2 separate regions of the Homo sapiens genome follow, and region 2 is linked to region 1. The links are contacts of gene promoters, found by promoter capture Hi-C in blood cells and fetal thymus (Javierre and others, 2016). All regions are on one chromosome and are shown on one strand. Each heading gives the region's core, a stretch centred on a gene start or on the middle of the fragment in contact. The rest is flanking DNA. Distances are from core to core; before and after follow the strand shown. Region 1 holds the start of DCP1B (decapping mRNA 1B). Region 2 holds the start of MIR3649 (microRNA 3649).

What was found. The method cuts DNA at HindIII sites, captures the fragments that hold promoters and counts their contacts. A CHiCAGO score of 5 or more calls a contact.
Region 2: a fragment that was not itself captured here is called in contact with the fragment with the promoter of DCP1B in region 1 in 2 of 17 cell types (total CD8 T cells and non-activated CD4 T cells); the score reaches 5.3 in total CD8 T cells.

What each region holds. Positions count from the first base shown.
Region 1 is chr12:2,003,069-2,006,546 of GRCh38, forward strand. It overlaps DCP1B (decapping mRNA 1B), which reads right to left and starts at 1,389. Exons shown (of 9, transcript NM_152640.5): 1 at 1,214-1,389. The coding sequence starts at 1,363. It also overlaps a transcript of CACNA1C not described here. RefSeq lists enhancers at 471-1,110, 1,435-1,664. The HindIII fragment of the contact is 8,474 bases long and covers 1-2,161 here.
Region 2 is chr12:1,657,502-1,660,931 of GRCh38, forward strand. It overlaps MIR3649 (microRNA 3649), which reads right to left and starts at 2,879; the gene lies at 2,814-2,879. The HindIII fragment of the contact is 3,765 bases long and covers 1-3,184 here.

The DNA.
Region 1 (3,478 bases), core at 139-2,638:
CCTAAATTCTTTGCCCCATTCCGGCAAATTTCCTCCGTTAAGAACTTTGGGCAAAACTGTTTGTCTACCCCATTCTTGCTTGTCTTTTTATTTTTATGTTAATGATTTTCAGGTGAGTTTTTTACTACAGGCTGCTGAACTATACTGCAGATAAGTAGGCTTATGAATGTGGGTGTTAAAAAAAATACAGAGTTGTTCAACATGGATGTTTTCCTAGATTAAGTTTTGATGTTTATACAACCGACTTGAAGAACACAAAAAGTTTATCTGAAATCCATTCATCAAGGCTAAGTTCTCCATACTGTTTTGTAACTTATTTTAAAATGATGGATATCATGTATGTGATACATAATGGATGATGAATATTATTTGGACAAAACTCATTATGAGTAAAGAAACAAAATTACATGTCTCTACATTCGAGTGGGTGGGTTACAAAATTACAAGCAGCAATCCCTGCAACAGGATTCCAGTGTTCTAGGCTTCTACCCCATTCTAACTATGAGGAAAATGAAATTTCATTCCATTACCATTTACTGGGACTCTGCTTTGAGAAGAGCACTAAAATAATTTGGCTCCCAAATGACCTCCAATATCGAACTTGGTGTGCTGCCGTGTAATAATCTTCCCAAGAGCATCAGCTTCCTTCTAAGTGTTAGACCCTGCCCCATTTTGTCTTTTATTTGACGAGGTTGGCTCTTTTCTTGGTGTTTCCCCTTAAGTTTACAACTTGCAGATTTCTCCCCTTCTATCAAGTTTTGATTTCTCTTTGCCCCATCTAAGACTGACATTCCAAAATCAGAACTCTGCACTTTTATTCGTCTGCTGTCCCTGCCTCCCCCATAGCCACAGATTCACTGTAACAGAACTCTGCTCTACTTTCTCGAGCACATCGGTCTTCCGGCCATAAGGTATCAGGTCCTTCCTTTCCTTCGGCTCTTATGGTGCCGTACCCGATCGGTCTGGTCTCCCAGCGTTGGGTACGTTAGAGATTTAAGTCTTTTCCCCAACTCCAGGTAGCTCCACAGATCCGCCTTCCTTCCCCCAAACCCCCGAGACCCCATCTCCACAACTTCGGCCTCAGTCCCCAGATCCACCCACTTCCAGGGCGTCAACGTCTCCTCCCCCTCACCGGGTCCTCAAGTCCTGAGTCTGACGCCCCCCGCCTCCACCCCAACCCTGGGCTGCACTGCTCCGCCGCGTCCGCACGCACCCACTCGTTGGCCCGATGGCCGAAGGTGTACAGAGCCACCTGGCTGGCCACGTCCACGATGCGGTTGATATAGGGGTCGTGGCGCTGCAGGGCCGCTAGGCTGATGTCGCGCCCCTTTCCCACCAGGCCGCCTGCCGCCACGGCTGCCATCTTCCCTCCCTCCCAGACATAGGCACGGGGCTCTTGGAAGCCACTCTCAATAGATCGCAGAACGAGCGAGCTGCCTCGCAACCGAGAACCCACGGCGACCACACGGCCCGGGAGGCCTTCCGGCTCCAGTCACCCCCACCCTCCTGCCCGCCGACAGACGCAAGGCCTCACTAATCGATGGCCGCGCCCCGCCCACTGAGGATCGTTGCCACTGGCAACGACAAGCCCAGGCCTGCCCTCTGCATCCCGTTTCTTTCTCCAAGAGCTGTTTTTCTACGCGCTCGAGCCTTTGAGCTGTGTGTGCGGTAGGATTTCCTTCTTGGATGTGTTCGACCCCTTGGCATATCTTTTCTTTGGCGCTTCAGTGATCAAATCTATCACAATAAATAAGCCTCGAGCATCAAGAACTCTGAAGAGAAAGAGAACTGAATTGATTTCTGAATGCGCTAACACCCAGTGGTTCTCAAAGTGTGGTGTGGTCCTGGAACCCTTTGGGAGTTTCTGAGACCCTTTCAGGGGATCTGCAAGGTCAAAAAAAAAACAAAACCTTTTATGACAATGCTGAGACTTACTTATTTGACTTGTTCACTGTGGTGACGTTTTGCAGACAATGGTGGTTAAAAGCGCCGGTGGTTTAACCCAATCAAGGCAGGGGCACCAAACTGTATTGCTAGTCAAAGTACGCGTCACTAATCTGCACTCTCAGTTACAAAAGAAAAAAAAAAAAAGAAGAAGGTAGAGAGCCAGTGTCACCTGATGGTGTTCTTGATAAGCAGTAAGAATTATTAATTTCATTGAAGCTTAATCCTTGGGTACAATTCTTTTTAACATTCTGCATGAAAAAATAGGAAATAGGCATAAAGCACGTCTGCTGCAAAATGAAGTGTGTCATATTTGTCTCTAGGAAAATACTTCTGTGCTTGAGTTGTAGGCCGAATTCATGTTTTTATTTTTATTTTCATAAAACATTTTTACTTGAAAGAAAGATGGGCAAACTATGATTATTCAAACAGGTACTTGACAGACATTTTTCTGAAAATAAATAAAGTGTGCCTGTCACTTTCAGGAAAACAAGGGACAATTACTGCTGCCAATGATAATTTTTAAGCCTTCAAGCCAGAATTAAAAGTTTAGAAAATGTGTATCTACTGCCATGAGCTTGACATCTCAGTACTTAATGTTTTTTTTTCTGATGAGATCAGTGATGATATTAATGAGCGCAATTTTAACAAATCTTGTATAATGGAAAGTGTCAATATCTCAAAGATCTGCTTAACTCAGTGGTCCAGTATTTTCCAAAAGACCAATGTCTCATGCTACATAATCATGCACAGGCAAAAGATCCATTCAAGGACAAGGTGGACTAATGGATTTTTAATGTAACAGTATGAAAAGTTAATAGGATTTCAGATAGTACATTGCAGCTAAGCTTTGAGAAACTCCAGCTTGTCAAGTTTTGGTATATTATCCAAGAAGAATATCCACAATTGTCTGAAAAACTCTATTAAAATATCCATCTCTTTTCCAACTACATTATCTACATATGAGGCCAGAGTTTCTTCATATACTCCAAACAAAACACACATAGCCCGGGGTCTTTAAAGTTATTTTTAATTTCCAATATGGTAAATATAGGTGGGTATAACTCACATAAACAAAAGTTCTCTGAGGGAGTCCTTAATAATTTTTAAGAGTGGGCCAGGTGCGGTGGCTCCTGCCTGTAATCCCAGCACTTTGGGAGGCTGAGGCGGGCGGATCACAAGGTCAGTAGTTCAAGACCAGCCTGGCCAACATGGTGAAACCCCGTCTCTACTAAAAATACAAAAATTAGCCAGGAGTGGTGGCAGGTACCTGTAATCCCGGATACTCGGGAGGCTGAGGCAGGAGAATCGCTTGAACCCGGGAGGCAGAGGTTGCAGTGAGCCGAGATCCTGCCACTGCACTCCAGCCTGGGTGATAGAGCGAGACTCCATCTCAAAAATAAAATAAATAAAAAGTAATTAAAAAAATAATTTTTAAGAGTGTAAAGGAGTCTTGAGACTAAAAAGTTGAGAATGGTTGATCTAAACCATTTATCTAGCATTAAATATTAGAACAACTGTGCAGACATTACTA
Region 2 (3,430 bases), core at 52-2,551, 350 kb before region 1:
TAATTTTGTTCATTTTTTTGTAGAGACAGGGTCTCACTCTATTGCCCAGGCTGGTCTTGAATTCCTGAACTCAAGTATTCCTCCTGCCTCAGCCTCCCAAGTAGCTCAGACCACCAGTGTGCCCTACCATGACCAGCTATTTTTTTTTTTTTTTAATTTTTTGTAGAGACTGGGGTCTCACTGTGTTGTCTAGGCTGGCCTCAAACTCCTGGGCTCAAGCAATCTTCCTGCCTTGGCAGCCCAAAGTCCTGGGATTACAGGCATAAACCACCATGCCAGGTGCCAGGTCAGAGATGTGGTTTTTTCAATCCCAGGGTCAAGAAACCAGAATTGCAGCCCTGGCTCTGCTGTCAAATTGTTCAAAAGCCTCTGAGGAAGAAGGATCAGGCTTCCAGGCTTTATTTGCTCCTCAGTTCCCGGTGCCAGCTCAGGGTTTTTGCAAAGTTTAGCTGCCATAGGAAGTGAGAAATTGCTCTGGAAAATGTATATGTTCCCATTTTTGCCTTTGTTATTATTTCAGTTCTGCTGTGGACTGTTGTGAACTGACCCAGTAACCACAGGCTAGTTCTTTGTCTTCCAAGCCCCTTATTGCTTGTTTCCAACAAAGTAGTCAAAAACACTTTCTCTGCTAAACAAACTTTTTTTCTTTTTTGTAACAAAAAAGACCAAAGATAGAAATACAGCATGGCTTTCTTTTTTCCTTTTTTTTTTTCTTTTTTTTTTGAGATACAGTCTTGCTCGTTGCCCAGGCTGGAGTGCAGTTGTGAGATCTCGGCTCACTGCAACCTCCACCTCCTGGGCTCAAGCGATTCTCCTGCCTCGGCCTCCCTAGTAGCTGGGACTACAGGCGCATGCCACCACGCCTGGCTAATTTTTGTATTTTTAGTAGAGATGGGGTTTTGCCACGTTGGCCAGGCTGGTCTCAAACTCCTGACCTTAGGTGATCCGCCCGCCTTGGCCTCCCAAATTGTTGGGACTATAGGCATGAGCCACCGCGCCCAGCCTTACAGCATGGATTTCTAAACAGAGTGGCTATTTGTTGCTGGGACAGGTAACTGAGAGGATAGATTTCATTCCCCAGAGAAGTTTAAGAAAAGAAGAGCATTTAGATGTTTTTAGAATTTAGTAGAGTCTAGAGCCAGGGAGAAAACCAGACATTCTCTGGAGATTCATTTCAGCTAGAGGGTTCTGTGTGTCCCATCTCCCTTTCAGGGATTAATCAGCCTCTAAAAACAGCAAGGGCACAAGATTCAGTACAGAGGACCTGGCTTCCCAACCAACTAGTTAAGTGATTCAGGCAGTTTCCTCAGCAATAAAACAGAAATAATACTCTCTCTACCTCAAATTAAATCATATGGATGTGAAAGCCTTTTGTAAAATATAAACTTTTAAAATATTGAGGCTGGGCATGGTGGCTCATGCCTGTAATCCCAGCACTTTGGGAGGCTGAGGTAGCAGGATTACTTGGGCCCAGAAGTTTGAGGTTGCAGTGAGCTAGGATCGAGCCACTGTACTCCAGACTGGGTGACAGAGCAAGACCCTGTATTAAAAAAGAAAAGGGTAATGGTATATCTTACATAGATATAGATAAGTGTATAAGATATAGCTTGCTTATATCATGGCAAGATCAATGAAAATATGCTTTTTAAAAAAGTAAAGTTTATTATGTAAGCTCTTGGGAATCATCTCAACTGAAGCCAACCACAAATGCAAGGGGTCTAACCTTGATGATCTGGATTTGTTTGGTCTTTTGTATACCCAGAAATCCACCATCCTTCTCTATGTTGGTCTTGGTCTTTCCTGAGAAGGCCAGTACCTGAAAAGTGAGCATTCCACCTTCCACCCCGCCATCACATGGGAGTCTTTTTTTTTTTTTTTTAAATCCCCAGTCTGTTTACCACTTTGTCCTAAGAATCAAAGACTTAGGAAACTTTTTTTTTTTTTTTTTTTTGAGACAGGGTCTCACTCTGTCACCCAGGCTGGAGTGCAGTGGCGTGATCTCAGCTCACGGCAACCTCTGCCTCCCAGGCTCAAGCGATTTTCCTGCCTCAGCTTCCTGAGTAGCTGGAATTACAGGCACGCGCCACCACACCCGGCTAATTTTTGTATTTTTTTTTAGTAGAGACGAGGTTTCACCATGCTGGCCAGGCTGGTCCTTATCTCCTGACCTCAAGTGATCCACCAGCCTCGGCCTCCCAAAGTGCTGGGATTACAGGCGTGAGCCACTGCTCCCGGCCAAGGAAACTTCAAGAAGGCAAAGGCAAGGAGGCCCACCCCTGGGCCCTCAGAGGACATGGACAGGGAGCGGACTCTGAAAGGAGCTCTGGGAATGGACTCTGCCCCCTCTAGCCCCCAGGGCCTGGCCGCCTACACCCAGCTGCTTCTCCTCACTGGCCTCTGCCCCAGGACATGGCAGCCACATCAGGGACGTGGAGCTGGGAAGCGTCCCCCCTTCTCACAGAAGGTCTGTGACAGTGGAGAAGATTCCCAGGATCTCAGGCTAGAAGTTGGAAGGCATTTTCTGAGGGCCACATGATTCCACCAGCTGGAGTTTTCTGTTCCCATTGTACAGTCCTTGATTTCTGGGACACAAGATGTTCTTTTAGGCTTTCCTGAATAACAAAGATCACACATACACTTGTTTATCTGGGGAGATGCCTTCCCGTTCTAAACAACTGACTTACAAATTCTCTTTCTGAGAACAATGCCCATTCATAAGTTGGGAACATTCTGTATGAGTGACTTCTGGCTGGGAAGGCACAGTTCTCAGGAGGGGGAGGAGTTCTCAGGAGACCCCTGTAAAGTGGGCCTGTGCTTAGACACTCAGGTCCCTGTGTTTGCTAGAAACACTTGGGCACACACAGGTGCCTGTTCCAAGCCTTCCTCCCAAGGAACACACCTGCGCATGTGAGTCACATGTCCCGCCAACGTGCCACCTAACCTTCACCCTGAGCTGGGGAGTATTGAGTAACTGTGTCGTCAGCAAAGTCACCCCACTGCTTGGGTAACACCTTCAGATAGTATCCAGGCCAAAACATGTTAAGAAAAAAAATTCACTCACAGCCAGAACACTTATTCCTGTTTATCTTTTAACAATGCAAGGGTAGGGAAATTGTTTGGAAATCAAAACGTGGAAGTTCGTTCATCCTCCCAACTCGTGGAGTTCTAAGGCAGAGACTGGCTAAGCTTTTGTGGGACCTAAAAGTTATATAATCAGGGTGGGGCAGTTTAAATAATTACAAATACGGAATTATGAACAGGGCCTTAGAAGGCGAGGGAGAGGCCCTGAAACTTGAGCTTCATTCACTTAATGGAAAATCTAACTCTGATTCTAGGGGAAGAATCTAGAAGATTCCATGAAAATACAATGTTATAGAGCTTTAAATGACTTTCCCTAAAATACTTTTAATACTTCTTGCCTTAGTGGATC